Regions from separate parts of the Homo sapiens genome. Here region 2 is linked to region 1. The links are contacts of gene promoters, found by promoter capture Hi-C in blood cells and fetal thymus (Javierre and others, 2016). All regions are on one chromosome and are shown on one strand. The core of a region is centred on a gene start or on the middle of the fragment in contact, and the rest is flanking DNA. Distances in the headings are between cores, read along the strand shown. Region 1 holds the start of MYH6 (myosin heavy chain 6). Region 2 overlaps BCL2L2-PABPN1 (BCL2L2-PABPN1 readthrough).

What was found. The method cuts DNA at HindIII sites, captures the fragments that hold promoters and counts their contacts. A CHiCAGO score of 5 or more calls a contact.
Region 2: a fragment that was not itself captured here is called in contact with the fragment with the promoter of MYH6 in region 1 in 1 of 17 cell types (megakaryocytes); the score reaches 6.0 in megakaryocytes.

The regions. Positions count from the first base shown.
Region 1 is chr14:23,403,781-23,411,363 of GRCh38, forward strand. It overlaps MYH6 (myosin heavy chain 6), which reads right to left and starts at 4,493. Exons shown (of 39, transcript NM_002471.4): 1 at 4,473-4,493; 2 at 3,796-3,828; 3 at 3,243-3,456; 4 at 1,847-1,990; 5 at 1,443-1,599; 6 at 1,320-1,347; 7 at 931-1,042; 8 at 516-608. The coding sequence starts at 3,443. RefSeq lists enhancers at 788-5,663, 3,346-3,846. The HindIII fragment of the contact is 15,953 bases long and covers 1-5,406 here.
Region 2 is chr14:23,323,682-23,331,264 of GRCh38, forward strand. BCL2L2-PABPN1 (BCL2L2-PABPN1 readthrough) reads left to right here. Exons shown (of 8, transcript NM_001387346.1): 7 at 284-371; 8 at 457-2,482. The coding sequence ends at 618. PABPN1 (poly(A) binding protein nuclear 1) reads left to right here. Exons shown (of 7, transcript NM_004643.4): 5 at 284-371; 6 at 457-608; 7 at 1,566-2,482. The coding sequence ends at 1,605. Among named protein-coding and RNA genes, the nearest start is that of PABPN1, 6.0 kb to the left of the region's middle. RefSeq lists a silencer at 4,512-4,601. The HindIII fragment of the contact is 1,983 bases long and covers 3,318-5,300 here.

The DNA of each region.
Region 1 (7,583 bases), core at 3,243-5,742:
GGGGACGAATGGGACAGAGTGAGGGAACTGGCGGGAAGGACAGAGTGAAATCCTGGCCCTCTGTTCAGCCCAGAAGCCCTGGATGGTTCTGGAAATGTAAACGACCTCTTTGGTGTCTCAGTTGAGTATAAGTGAAGCCGGGCAGAGGATGCCACCCTCACACACTGTGCAGGGACCTCCTAGTGGAACCTCGGCCCAGAGGGGAACACATACAGAATGCCTCCTGCTCATACCTCTCATATGATCTCACCTAATCCTCCCAGTAATCTGCAGGGTGGATATTAGTCCCCCTGTTTCACAGGTGAAGGAACTAGGGCTCAGAGAGGTGTAAGGACTTGCTGAGCAAGTGGAAAGTCAGACCTTTGGCTCCAAAGCCTATGCTCTCTTCCCACCAACGTGTGCATGTTGATATCCCAAAGCCAGATACAGTACAATCAACTGGGTGTGGCAAAACAGCACCCCCTTTTTCTTGTCAAGGCTGGATGAGGCCACTGGGAGTGGTCAAAGGCACTCACAAAGCGGGAGGAGTTGTCGTTCCGGACAGTCTTGGCATTGCCGAAGGCCTCCAGAGCGGGGTTGGCCTGGATGATCTGGTCCTCCAGGGTGCCCTATGAAAGGAGCAGAACTGCATGGGTTCATCCTCCATCCACCTCCAGGCAGTGGTGAGAGGGCAGGGAGGCTGCCCTGGCCCTGAGGAATGGGGGTGCGGGGCTGGGTGAACCGCTAGTGGGTCTGCGACTCCACAGGATCCTACCCAGACCTCAGGGTGAGTGTCTCCTGTCAGGAAGGTCTTCCATACTGGGCTGACCATCGGGAGCCCAGCTCAGTGTGGCTGTCCCCACCACGTCACAGGGAGGGGAGGGTTAGGGGTAACTCGGGTCAGCCTGCCCCCCAACCCCTGTTCTGCCGAGCCTGTGTCCCCCATGGCACCTTGTTCGCATTGGCATTGTCCTTCTTGCCACGGTCACCTATGGCTGCAATGCTGGCAAAGTACTGGATGACACGCTTGGTGTTCACAGTCTTCCCCGCCCCGGATTCTCCCCTGGGGGCCACAGAGACCAATCAAAACTCAGGATTCCTACTGTTCTCCATACAGGGCTCAGCATCACATGCTCCCCTTCCCAGCCTGGCCATCAGAGCCCAGCACCCAGCAGGATTTGCCTGACATGGTTCATTGCTCTGGCACCCCTCTAATGAGAGCTCAGTGCCCCATGCTCCCTGCAATCCCAGCCTTAAACCTCTCCTCCCAACTACACCCTAGGCATCAGCGTGTATGCCCCCAGCCCAGTCCCTTCTGTGGGAGGATGGCACTCGCTCACGTGATGAGGATGGACTGGTTCTCCCGATCTGGAAGAAAAAAGAGGAGAAGCAATGGGGTCAGGGCTGAGGATCTGGGTGGGTGTCTGGGAGGAGGAGCAGAGACCAGGGGCCACCAGGCTCACCTGTCAGCATGTACTGATAGGCGTTGTCGGAGATGGAGAAGATGTGGGGCGGGGCCTCACTCCTCTTCTTGCCCCGGTAGGCGGCCACCACCTCGGCATTGTACACCGGCAGCCACTTGTAGGGGTTGACAGTGACACAGAAGAGGCCCGAGTAGGTCTGGAGCAGGAGACAAGGCTGGGCATGAGGTTGGTGGGGAGAGCCTGGGACAGGCAGTGGTGGCAGCCAGGCATGTCCCTGTTCACTCCAGCTGGCTCTACTCCTCCTGCAGCTGACTAGGGGTGGAGGGGGGAAGGGGACTTGGGTCCCTTGGGAGTCTCTCCCCCTCTTCTTGGGAGAGCCCCCCTGGCTTATTTAGGCCTCCACGCAGCACAGGAAGCCTCTGCAGTGTGCAGGAGCCACTCACATATATCATCCAGGCCGCGTAGCGCTCCTTGAGGTTGAAAAGCACCGCGGGCTCGTGCAGGAAGGTCAGCATGGCCATGTCCTCAATCTTGTCGAACTTGGGTGGGTTCTGCTGCAACACCTGGTCCTCCTTCACAGTCACCGTCTGGAGGGGGCGCATAAGCAGGAGGATGAGTGACCACAATCCCTCCGGGACCCTTGCCAGCACTGCCCACTGACCTCCTCCCAGGACACAGGGACTTGGCCTTGCTCCCCTTGCTCTGACCAGTGCCCCGGCCCCTACCCCGATGTCCCCTGGGACACTTTCCCCAGGTAATTTCCCTTCCCATTGTATCTCCCATCCTAGAGACTGTCCTAGGGTACCTTTCTCTTGCCAGATCCCCAGACCATCCTGGGGACACCCTGTGCCCATGACCATCACTCTTCAGTCCCTATGTTCCAAGGGTCTTGGGGCAGACCTGGAGATTGGCAGCTCTCAGATCTGTGCACACCTTATGCTGACCCCGAGGCTGTCTCCCGCGGGCAGCGCTTTAGGGTATCTGTTGCTCAGGGCAAACCTTCACCCCTGCTGGAAAAGTAGTTCACCCATCTACTCCACACTCCCCATCCATCACTGTTGGTGTGGTTTGATTGGCAGCAGTCAGTTTGCCATGCCCTGATGTCATTAGATCCTGCCAGTAGGTATTCCAGTGTTTTTTATAGTGGAGAAATCCGTGGCTCTAAATGACTAAATGATTTGCCTGCACAGTGACTAGCGGGTGGCAGAGCTGGGATCAGAGTCAAAAGCCCCAGGGGATTGTGGCCTGTTATTCTACACTTCAATGGGTTGTAACATTCAGTCAACGAGTTCATGAGGCACACAGCCCTGAGCCGCAGCTGGTAACCAGGGGTGATTCTCTTGGCTGGTGTGAGCAAACCAGGGACCAGAGCTTCTGAGTGCCAGTCAAGGAGAGTGCTCAGCTCAAAAGTTTCTGATCTTTGTGTTCATCTGGGTCTAAGAATTACTCTTGATTTGGGTGAACGGAATTTGAGAAAGTGGACTCATGGAGGAAACTGAGGCACAGGGAAGAGGGATACAAGTGCAAGAAGGGGGCATCATTTAATGCTGTGTCTGTGCCCTCTTTATCTACAAGACCCCTCTTAGGCGAACACTGAGGTTCTTCTTCCTCAGCATCCTCTCTGGCAGGGGGAACATGGCCCTGGGTGGCACCTGTTGCACCAGCTCAGGTCAATTTGAGAGGGATCAGATTCTGGGCTCCTCAAAGGAGCATGTCCTGGCATCCCCACTGGCCTTGGCTTTTCTCCAGCCCTCTCAGCTCCCCCTGCAAGTGGCTCCACCTCTGCATCTTCTTTCCCAGACCTCCTTCCCTTCTGCCCCGGCGCCATGCCCTACTCACCTTCCCATTCTCGGTTTCAGCAATGACCTTGCCTCCCTCCCGGGACAAAATCTTGGCTTTGACAAACTCTTCCTTGTCATCGGGCACGAAGCACTCAGTGCGAATGTCAAAGGGCCGGGTCTGGGCCTCTAGACGCTCCTTCTCTGACTTGCGGAGGTACTGGGCCGCTGCCCCAAAGTCAGCCATCTGGGCATCGGTCATCTTGGTGCTTCCCCTGGGTCAGAGACAGGAGGGCTATGTTACTCCTGAGGGAGCCCAGGCTCCAGCGAGTGGCTTTGTCCTCTGCAGCCCCCCTCCCTACCCCCGCTCCTCTCCTCCACCCTGGGAGAGGCACCTGCTGTTGCACCCTCCCCTACTCAGGGCTCTGCTTCTCCTGCCCTCTGAGGTGATGCTGAAGGACAATCTCTGTAAGGGGTTTCCCTGGGGTGGCATTGGCTGGAGTATGCTAAGGGTTGGCGCTGAGTGCTTGGGACAGCAGACCCCTGGTCCAGCAATCCGGCTCCCAGGAGAAGCATGCCCCAGTCTCTGCAGAGAAAATGGGGGCAGTTCTCACCTGGTTATCCCTTCACGGAGAATCCTGAAGAATCTGGACCGTGGGTGGAGCAAGGAACAACAGAGGTAGAGCCGGGCAGAGAGAAGAACAGATGAGGAGAGTGAAGAACAACAGAGGCAGGCCACCCGGGGATGGAGGCAGCCCCAGAGCGCAGACAGGCAGGACAGACCAGGGAGTCAGAAAGGGAAAGACGCAGAGGCAGAAAAGAAAGGGCACCGAGTCAATATGAGTGCGAGGGACGGGGTGTGGAAACAGGGTTAGAAGCAGAGAGGCAGGGAGGTGAGAACACGTGCCAAGAAGGAAGGACAAGGGAGAGAGACAAAGAAGCATGATTGTGACAAGTGTCGATGAAGACCAAGAGGCAAGATAAAACCAGGATCAAGGGAAGGAAGCCATCCAAAGGAGGAAGGAAGATGGAAAGATGGAGACAACATGTAGGAGACTCAGAATGATGCAGAGAAAGAAATGGAGAGTCAGAGAAGGAGAAAAGAGGTTTCTGGGTTTCCTGTGGAACCTCCTTGTGTCAGGGGGAACTTCCCTGGGCCTGGAGATAGGCAGTTTTAATAGAGCCCTTAGGCCTCCAACTGACCTGCACCCCACTCCTGGTGAAGGAGGTCCCTCACGGTGGGGGCTCTGTGGACGGGCTGCAGGGCATCCCACCCCAAACCTCCTCTTACCTGGGCCGCAGGAGTCTCTCTATCTGTCCTCAAAGCTCCAGTTCCTTTATATCCCGTTTCCCCCACCCTCTGTCTAAATTTGGAGTCCTTCCGGAGGGACCCTCCCTCCCACCTCTCTCCCCTCCTGGCTCCTCCTCCTTTGATCCTTTGGCTCTGGAGGTGACAGGAGGACAGCAGGGCCCCCTGATTTGCCCAAGAAAGGTCTGCTGCCCCAGCCTCTCTGGCTCCACGGCCTTTTTTTAGTCCTTGGGCACATTCCTCCCCTTCAAAGGGCTGATGAGCAGATAGTGGGAAGACAGGACCTTCTCACACCGCCTCTCCCACCCTGCCATGGCCCTTACCTCAGTTATTTTTAACCCGAAGGGTGAACTGAAAACATGGGTGAGGGTCACCTTCTCCTGCAGGCCAAATGCCTGTCCTCCGCCTCCCAACCATGGGCTTTCCTCCCCTGTTCCCCAGCCTCTCCTTCCCATTCTGACCTCCCTCACACAGTCCCAGGCTGGGAGCATCTTCCTGCTGTTAGTACTGGAGCCCCCAGTGCTAGGGACTAAAAGCTGCAGTATGGTGCCCAGGGAAGGGATCTGTTGTCCATCTCCATGGCTCAGTTTTCTTTTGTCAGGAAATTCTGTCCTGGCCTCAGTCTGCATAAGTGCCATGCCTGGTCTCCTTCTGTTCCCCAAGTCTTCAGACAAGTGTTCTCCCAAGGTCTTGAGGCCACCCTGGTTTGGGGACACGTCTGGAGTCCCCACCCCTTCCCTAATGCTCCTGATAGAGTGGCCAACATCCAACCTGCTCACGCAATGGCAGTGATTCTCCCTGCCGCCTCAGGCAGATTTTCACACAGAACCCCAGTTCAGCACTCTCACATACAGACTTGACCGTGTCTGTGCCCATCTTCAGCCACACATGCAGATTTTTCACACTTACCCACTCAAGCTTGCAGATTTCTTTTCTACTTTCTTTTGTGTACATGGATGCACACATTTGCACATCCGCATTTGCACACATAGGCTTTTGCCCTCCCCTGCTACCCTCTGCTCCTGGGGTGGGGTGGGCAGAAGAAGATGGTGCTAATCCTAGGGCCTGAGAGAGGAGGGGGGTGGGTGAGGGGCTGTCCCCTTCTGCCTCACCGGGCTGCCAGAGGGTGCAGGTGCCTGGCAGGCCTGGGGATTTACACCATCTGGTCCCCAGGCACTGCATTCCATCGGGGTGGGGCTCTGCCACCTGCCCCCTCCCCAGGCAGAATTTTGTTGCCCCTTTCCAAGCCCTCCAGGGCTTATACTCACATTCCCTTCTTTGTGGGTGTCCTCAAGCACCCTAGGCCCTCAAGGCCCCGCTCCCCATCCTCCAATGCTGCCATCTCTCAGAGGCTGTAGGTGTCAGGTCTTCAGCAGGCTGTTCCTGTTATGACTAAGTGGACATTGTGTTCAGGAAACAAAGCCAGACTCCCCTGCTCTGGCCTTCCCCCCACCCTCACACCCAGGAACACCCTCCCAGCCCCCCTCCCACCAGTTTACTGTCACCTCTCAATATAGCTCCAGGGTGTGGAGGTGGGTAGGACGACAGGGGTCAGCTTCTCTGGGTAGGAGCACTTTCCATTAAGATGTGGCCTCTCCCCTAGCTCCCTAGGACGCTGCCACCCCATTCCTGGGCTCAGGAACACACCTCTCTTTCCAGAGCATTTGGACCTTTTCTCAATGTCCTTGGAGGGACCTTAGTTGACCCCACATCCCCATCTTCTGCAGGTGCTTATGCCAAATCATTACCCCCAGGGGATGCAGGCCACCTGTCCCCAGCTCTAGGTTACTCGAGGCCCCAGAATTCGAGCCGGGGGGTTAGCCCATGGCCAGTGCGTCACTGCTTGGTTCCCATAGCTCTGGGGACATGATAAGGAGCTGAGAACGCCAGGTCAGTCTGGGTCGGGGTCAGGTGACAAAGACCAGGCTTTGTCCTCAGGGAACCCTGTGCTCTGAGCAGGCCTCACTTGGTATAGGTGGTGGTGGCAGGGCAGCGGGGAGTGGAGGTGGTGGGGGGTAGTCCCCCGCTCCTGTGGAAGGAGGAGGAAGGAAGGTGTTCACTCAGCCCCAGGCCCTGCCCGTCTGCTCCGCTGTACCGTCCTCTCCCTTCCCCAGGCTCCTTCTCTCCCTGCTCTCACATATTGCTCTCCGTCCTCCCTAAGCTGCCTTGCACACAGCTCCTCATTCTGCTGGGAGTCCTGGAATATAAGGACAGGGATGGAGGCTTCGGCCACAGGTGAGGGTGCCAAGGAGGCAAGGCTGGCCTCCCTGGCACAGGTTGCCTGTCTTCTGCCTGGCTCCCCGTTGCATCTGTCTCTGTCTCACCTTCATTCCCTCTGCCTGCTTCTCCATCTCAGAGTGGGGCCTGCCTCCGATTCTCCCTGGCCCGTGTCTCCACCCGGCTCAGGGTCTAACATGAGGCTCTGCCCTCTCCGAGCTGGCCTCTTCTCTCGCCCTGGGCCTCCACATCTTGCTCCAGGCTCTTCCTCCTCTCCAATCTCCTTGCGCCTTCCTGACTCTCCTTGCATTTGCAAGTGACCCAGGATTCTTTCCTTCACTCGGGATCACCACCCGCAGCTCTTCAAGCTTCTCCCTCCAAGGCTCCCTCTCTTTTCCTCTCTCCCCATCCCCCTCAGCACCCCTCCTTCTCCCTGGCTTGGCTCTCAGACCTCTCTCAACCCTGCTGTCTGCATCCAGCCCCCGACCATTCTCATAGGATCTGTATCTCTTGCGGTCTCTCTTGCTCTGGTTGCTTAGGTGCCCTGGGTCTCTCTGCATAGCTCCCTTTTCAAGGGTTCTCTCCTTTGTTTCTAGTTATCTCTTCATTGCTGTCCAAGTCTGTTCCTAGCCAGAGGAATGGCCCTAGGGATCTCGGCCCAAGCCGAGGTTGTGCCACTGCACTCCAGCCTGGGCAGCAGAGTGAGACTCCGTCACAAAAACAAAAACAAAAACAAAAAGGCTGAAAGAATCCTAGAAATCACAGAGAACTGAATTACCTTGGCCTCTGGGGCTGTGTGGTTCAATTGAGCTGGATAAATGAAAAGGAAGCATCCCTGGTTTGAGGGAGCTCTGTCTGGGTTGGCCTAGGGAAGGA
Region 2 (7,583 bases), core at 3,059-5,558, 80 kb before region 1:
TGGGTGGGATTACGAACTAGAAGGGGAGGGGCAGCTTCTACTTGGCCTATTATGGCCATATGGAAATTCAGGCCCTGTGTGTCTTATTTTTACAAATTTCAAAGAGTAGCTGGAAATTTTAAAATTTAAATGATTTCGAATGATTGAAATTTTCCATTTAGAAGAATTTTGACAAATAAAAAATATAACTGCATTGTAGCCCAAAACGAAGCATGCCTGCAGGTTGAATTTGACCTGTGAGGTATTTGTAACCTCAGAGAGATACAATGACAATTCTTTTCAGGTTTGCGTATATAGAGTTCTCAGACAAAGAGTCAGTGAGGACTTCCTTGGCCTTAGATGAGTCCCTATTTAGAGGAAGGCAAATCAAGGTAAGCCTATGTCCATTGCTGTTCTAGTTGTGTATAAACTCTCCAGGTTGCCTTTAAGGCTATCATTTGTTCATCTCTGACTCAGGTGATCCCAAAACGAACCAACAGACCAGGCATCAGCACAACAGACCGGGGTTTTCCACGAGCCCGCTACCGCGCCCGGACCACCAACTACAACAGCTCCCGCTCTCGATTCTACAGTGGTTTTAACAGCAGGCCCCGGGGTCGCGTCTACAGGTCAGGATAGATGGGCTGCTCCTCTTTCCCCCGCCTCCCGTGAGCCCCGTATGCTTCCTCCTCTCTGGTCTGAGGAACCTCCCTCCCCCCACCCCTCCCCGTGGTCTTCAGGAACTTTGTCTCCTGCCTGTGCAGGTTGAGGAAGGTAGTTGCAGGCCAGGCCAGAAGGCCAGCCTCATCATCTTTTCTGCAGTAGAAATTGGTGATAAGGGCTGCATCCCTCCCTTGGTTCAAAGAGGCTTCCACCCCCAGCCTTTTTTTTCTTGGGAGTTGGTGGCATTTGAAGGTGTTTGCGGACAAAACTGGGAGGAACAGGGCCTCCAGGCAGTGAAAGCACTGCTTGGACATTTGTTACTTTTTTCGGAGTTAGGGAGGGATTGAAGACTGAACCTCCCTTGGAAGAATACCAGAGGCTAGCTAGTTGATCCTCCCCAACAGCCTTGTGGGAGGATTTTGAGATACTTATTCTTTATTTGAGCCAGTCTTGCAAGGTTAACTTCTCACTGGGCCTAGTGTGGTGCCCAGGTTTTTGCCTTGCTTCACTTCTGTCTCTACATTTAAATAGACGGGTTAGGCATATAAACCTTGGCTTTTCATAAGCTCTACCTGCCTATCCCCAGGAGTTAGGGAGGATCTATTTGTGATGGCCTAGGGTTTAAGAGCTGTGGAGGACTGAAAACTGGATAAAAAGGGGGTCCTTTTCCTTGCCCCTGTCTCTCACTCAGATGCGCTTCTTTTTCGCCACTGTTTGGCAGTTTTCTGTTAAGCCCCCCTCCCCCTGCCCCAGTTCTCCAGGTGCGTTACTATTTCTGGGATCATGGGGTCAGTTTTAGGACACTTGAACACTTCTTTTCCCCCCTTCCCTTCACAGTAACTGGGGCAGGGGCCTACGGGGAGGGGCTTGTACTGAACTATCTAGTGATCACGTTAACACCTAACTCTCCTTCTTTCTTCCAGGGGCCGGGCTAGAGCGACATCATGGTATTCCCCTTACTAAAAAAAGTGTGTATTAGGAGGAGAGAGAGGAAAAAAAGAGGAAAGAAGGAAAAAAAAAAGAATTAAAAAAAAAAAAAAGAAAAACAGAAGATGACCTTGATGGAAAAAAAATATTTTTTAAAAAAAAGATATACTGTGGAAGGGGGGAGAATCCCATAACTAACTGCTGAGGAGGGACCTGCTTTGGGGAGTAGGGGAAGGCCCAGGGAGTGGGGCAGGGGGCTGCTTATTCACTCTGGGGATTCGCCATGGACACGTCTCAACTGCGCAAGCTGCTGCCCATGTTTCCCTGCCCCACTTCACCCCCTTGGGGGCTGCTCAAGGGTAGGTGGGCGTGGGTGGTAGGAGGTTTTTTTTTTTACCCAGGGCTCTGGAAGGACACCAAACTGTTCTGCTTGTTACCTTCCCTCCGTCTTCTCCTCGCCTTTCACAGTCCCCTCCTGCCTGCTCCTGTCCAGCCAGGTCTACCACCCACCCCACCCCTCTTCTCCGGCTCCCTGCCCCTCCAGATTGCCTGGTGATCTATTTTGTTTCCTTTTGTGTTTCTTTTTCTGTTTTGAGTGTCTTTCTTTGCAGGTTTCTGTAGCCGGAAGATCTCCGTTCCGCTCCCAGCGGCTCCAGTGTAAATTCCCCTTCCCCCTGGGGAAATGCACTACCTTGTTTTGGGGGGTTTAGGGGTGTTTTTGTTTTTCAGTTGTTTTGTTTTTTTGTTTTTTTTTTTTTTCCTTTGCCTTTTTTCCCTTTTATTTGGAGGGAATGGGAGGAAGTGGGAACAGGGAGGTGGGAGGTGGATTTTGTTTATTTTTTTAGCTCATTTCCAGGGGTGGGAATTTTTTTTTAATATGTGTCATGAATAAAGTTGTTTTTGAAAATAAAAATTGTTTGGCCTTTTGGGTGTAAGGATTATTTATCTTCCTATTCTCTCTTAGATCGCAGATGGCTATTAATTCTGCCTTGTGGTAGAAGTACTGGTGTTGTGGAAGGGAGGTTGCCACTTGTGAATTAAGGAGTAGGAATTACATTACAACTAGCAGGAACATTATGTGTTTAGTTGAGAATGATAGGTTTTCTGGATAACATGTAACCCTGATTGGCATTTGAGAGAGAAATAAGCCTGGGAAAGTAAAAGAATAGCTGAATTGGGCCGGGCATGGTGGCTCACTGCTACAATCCCAGGACTTTGGGAGGCTGAGGTGGGCAGATCACGAGGTCAGGAGATCAAGACCATCTTGGCTAACATGGCGAAACCCCACCTCTACTAAAAATACAGAAAATTAGCCTGACGAGGTGGCGGGTGCCTGTGGTCCCAGCTACTCGGGAGGCTGAGCCAGGAGAATGGCGTGAACCCAGGAGGTGGAGCTTGCAGTGAGCCAAGTTCACACCACTGCACTCCAGCCTGGGTGACAGAGTGAAACTGTCTCAAAATAAAAAAAGGAATAGCCGAATTACTGACCTAATGGCGCTTTTGTGTGCTCCTGATACAGCTTACGTGCAAATGAACTATCCATGCCTGCAGCCCTAGAGCTTTGGATTGGGGTCTGGGTAACCTTGTCTTTGGGGTCTCGCTATGTTGACCAAGCAATCTTCCCATCTTAGCCTCCCAAAGTATTGGGATTACAAGTGTGAACCACTGCACCCAGCTACCTTTTCTACCTCAAGGTGGGCCCAAGAAATGCAGAAGACAAAATACACTTAGCTAAGAGACAATCGGAAAGCTTGTTTTTCCAACCATGCAGTAACCATTTAATGTGTCCAGCTAACTTATATTAATTGGATCATTTATTTTTTTGAGATGGTCTTGCTTTGTCACCCAGGCTGGAGTGCAGTGGCTCACTGCAGCCTCAACCTCCCGGGCTCAAGTGATCCTCCCACCTCAGTGTCCTACATAGCTGTGACTATAGGTGCCTGCCTTCACACTTGGCTAATTTTTTGTAGAGACAGTTTTGCTGTGTTGCCCAGGCTGTCCCAAACTCCTGAGCTCAAGCAGTCCTCCTGGCTTGGCCTTCCTATAGGCGTGAGCCACAGCTCCTGGCCAGGATTAGTTTATTAGGACTTCACAACTGGCTTTCACTGTTTTCATATCTAAATTTTGTCTTGGGCATCCTAATTTCTCCATTTTTTATTCCAGTGTCAGATTGGTCTTAAAACTTGAACACTACATCACTAGCCAGGTTGAACCTTCAGACTTCATTACCTATAGAATTTCTTAGTATTTCAACCTTACTATTTTTTCATTTACTTCTCAGGATGTTTTGTTCACAATTGCCTCTGACCTGGATGCTCTTCAAAAATCATATGTTAAAGAAATGGCTCTGTGGCCGGGCGCAGTGGCTCACACCTGCAGTCTCAGCACTTTGGGAGGCAGAGGTGGGCGGATCACTTGAGGTCAGGAGTTTGAGACCAGCCTGGCCAACATGGTGAAATCCCGTCTCTACTAAAAATACAAAAATTAGCCAGGTGTGGTGGCATGCACCTGTAGTCCCAGCTACTCTGGAGGCTAAGGCAGGAGAATCGTTTGAACATAGGAGGTGGAGATTGAGGTGAGCTGAGACTCAGCCACTGCACTTCCAGCCTGGGTGACAGAGCGAGACTCTGTCTCAAAACAAACAAAACAAAAAACTCTGTTATATCTGAAGCCTTAACCCACCTCTCAAATTGCAGTATTTTCTAAAATCTCATGTCAGTGTTATCCACCACATATTTTAGGATTTGGTCATTTATTCTACTTTCTGTTATGGGTTAGGCATTTGAGGTCTATCTTTTCTCCTAACTAGATTCACCTAAAATAGTGCCGTGATCTCTGTGGCTTCTGCAGAGGCTGATTAGTGAGGGTCTGGATAGTGTTCAATATAAACTTTTTACTGGAAGAATGAAACAGCCTAAGTGACTTGTTGCTGTTAATGCTGTGATGGTCTCATCTGTCCACCAGGGGGCACTAAATGGCTGGCTCTAAAAGATCCCCATAAATTGTTGGGTATTGGAGGGTGAATCATGTTTTGACCCTTCTCTGGTTTAGTTTTCCATATTCAGTCAATTCTACCATATCTTGTCTGTTCTCTCTATTCCTACTTTCACTGCTTGAGTAACTCCCCATCATCATTGCAGGGGTCCTGGCAGATGTATTGGCTTCAAATTTTTTTTTGAAAAATAAAAATTCCTAAAAAAAGTACTTTAAAAGATAGGGTCTCGCTATGTTGGCCAAGTTGATCTTGAACTCTTGGCCTCAAGCAATCCTCCTGCCTCGGCCTCCCAAAGTGCTAGGTTTATAGGCGTAAGCTACCATGCTCAGCCTCCAAACTTCTTATTGCCAAAAAAAGCCCTCTATGATGCCACCAATAAGTACAAAGTCCAAACACAAGCATGGAACTACAACCTTTTTCAATCTGATCCTGATTACATTTCTCTTCCAGATCCTGCCCTACACCTGATGTACTATGCATTGTAGTTGTTATTTATTTTCATGTATCCCTCATGCTGTTCCCTCTAGCCTGCTATGCTCATTCCAACTCTTCTATGAAAATCACGCATATCCTTCCAAGTGTAAGCCAGGTACAACAGACATGAAGCCTTTCCTGATTTCCAAGTCAGAAGTAATCACTCCTGCAGTCAGGACAAACTGTTCCTATCCCTGTTTAATATTTACTTTGTGGTTTTATAATGAAACTAACTACATTTCTGTTTTCCCACTAGAATGCAAGCTTCTTCTTTTTTTTTTTTTTTTTTTTTTTTTTTTTTTTGAGACGGAGTCTCGCTCTGTCGCCCAGGCTGGCCTGCGGACTGCAGTGGCGGGATCTCGGCTCACTGCAAGCTCCGCTTCCCGGGTTCACGCCATTCTCCTGCCTCAGCCTCCCGAGTAGCTGGGACTACAGGCGCCCGCCACCGCGCCCGGCTAATTTTTTGTATTTTTAGTAGAGACGGGGTTTCACCTTGTTAGCCAGGATGGTCTCGATCTCCTGACCTCATGATCCACCCGCCTCGGCCTCCCAAAGTGCTGGGATTACAGGCGTGAGCCACCGCGCCCGGCCGAATGCAAGCTTCTTGAGGGCATCAATTGTGACTTTGTGTCTGCCTCACAGGGCCTGCCATTTAGTAGGTGCCCAAAAGTTGCTTATTCACCCTGGGCTTGCCTTTCCTGTCCTGGAGAAGGCGGTAACAACAATAGTGTTGCCTTTTACCTGGAGCTGGTAGTTTTCTTCCTCTTTTTTTTTTTTTTTCCTGAGACGGAGTTTCACTCTGTCGCCCAAGCTGGAGTGCAGTGGTGCCATCTCAGCTCACTGCAACCTCCACCTCCCAGGTTCAAGCAATTCTCCTGCCTCAGCCTCCTGAGTAGCTAGGATTACAGGCATGCGCCACATGCCTGGCTAATTTTTTGTATTTTTAGTAGAGACGGGGTTTCAACATGTTGGTCAGGCTGGTCTCGATCTCCTGATCTCGTGGTTAACCCACCTCGGCCTCCCAAAGTGCTGGGATTACAAGCGTGAGCCACCATGCCCGGCCTTTAGTTTTATTCTTATAAGAGTCAGACTATTTTACTTAAAAGAGACTAGGTTTAGAGGAAGAAGCATGGAAAGAAAGTTACTTTCCTCGGGCAAGCTTGGTTATTTTTGGTGGATGATTTCTGTCAGTCACTCCTGATCGGCTCTCTGTTAACTGAGGGATAGAAATGAGCCCAATCTCACTGGAGTTCCATGGGAAGAAAGAGACTGGGAGAGCCTGTGTATAAAACCTGTCTGGGGTGAGGGTCTGTGAGTCAGAGATCCTTAGAGGGCCTTTGGATGATGCAAAATAAACCGAGGCAAGCCAGTGCTTTTTAAGGTAGGATTTGCCCAATCCGACGTTGGCAATGGAGAAAAGAAACAGTTGGTGGGTTTTTACAATAATATTGCTGCTTTCCTTGTTTTTATGTATGGTTAGAATGAGCAGCCTTTCTCAAATTATGATCACATTTTATTATTATTATTATTTTTTGAGATGGAATCTTGCTCTGTCGCCTAGGCTGGAGTGCAGTGGCACGATCTCGGCTCACTGCAACCTCTGCCTCCTGGGTTCAAGCGATTTTCCTGCCTCAGCCTCCCGAGTAGCTGGAATTACAGGTGTGTGCCACCACGCCAGGCTAATTTTTGTATTTTTAGTACAGACGGGGTTTCACCATGGCTGGTCTTGAACTCCCGACCTCATGATCTGCCTGCCTCGGCCTCCCAAAGTGCTGGGATTACAGGCATGAGCCACTGCACCCGGCCTTATTATTATTTTTTAATGGAGACAAGGTCTTGCTCTGTTGCTCAGAATGAGCAACAAATTCATATCTCACTGAAACCTCAAACTCCTGGGCTTGAGCCATCCTTCCACCTTAGCCTCCCAAGTATCTGAGACCACAGGCACATACCACCATGCCTGGCTAATTTTTTGTTTTTTTATTATTTATTTATTTTTTTGAGATGGAGTCTTGCTCTGTCACCCAGGCTGGAGAGCAATGGAGCGATCTTGGCTCACTGCAACCTCAGTCTCCCGGGTTCCAGCAATTCTCCTGCCTCAGCCCCCCAAGTAGCTGGGACTACAGCCGTGCACCACCAAGCTCGTCTAATTTTTTTATTTTTTAGTAGAGATGGCGTTTCACCATATTGGCCAGGCTGGTCTTGAACTCCTGACCTCATGATCCGCCCGCCTCAGCCTCCCAAAGTGCTGGGATTACAGGCATGAGCCATCGCGCAGGGCCAGAATTTTATTATATTTTATTTTTTGTAAAGATGAGATCTTGCTATGTTGCCCAAGCTGGCCTCAAACTCCTGGGCTCAAGTGATCCTCCCACCTCAGCCTCACAAAGTGCTTGGATTACAGGCATAAGCCACCATGCCTGGCCCAGTATTCCTTTTTATGGCTGACTAGTATTTCATTGGATATAACACATTTTGTTTCCATCATCAACTGATGGACATTTGGGTTGTTTCTATTTTTTTGGCTATTACAAATAGTCTGGCT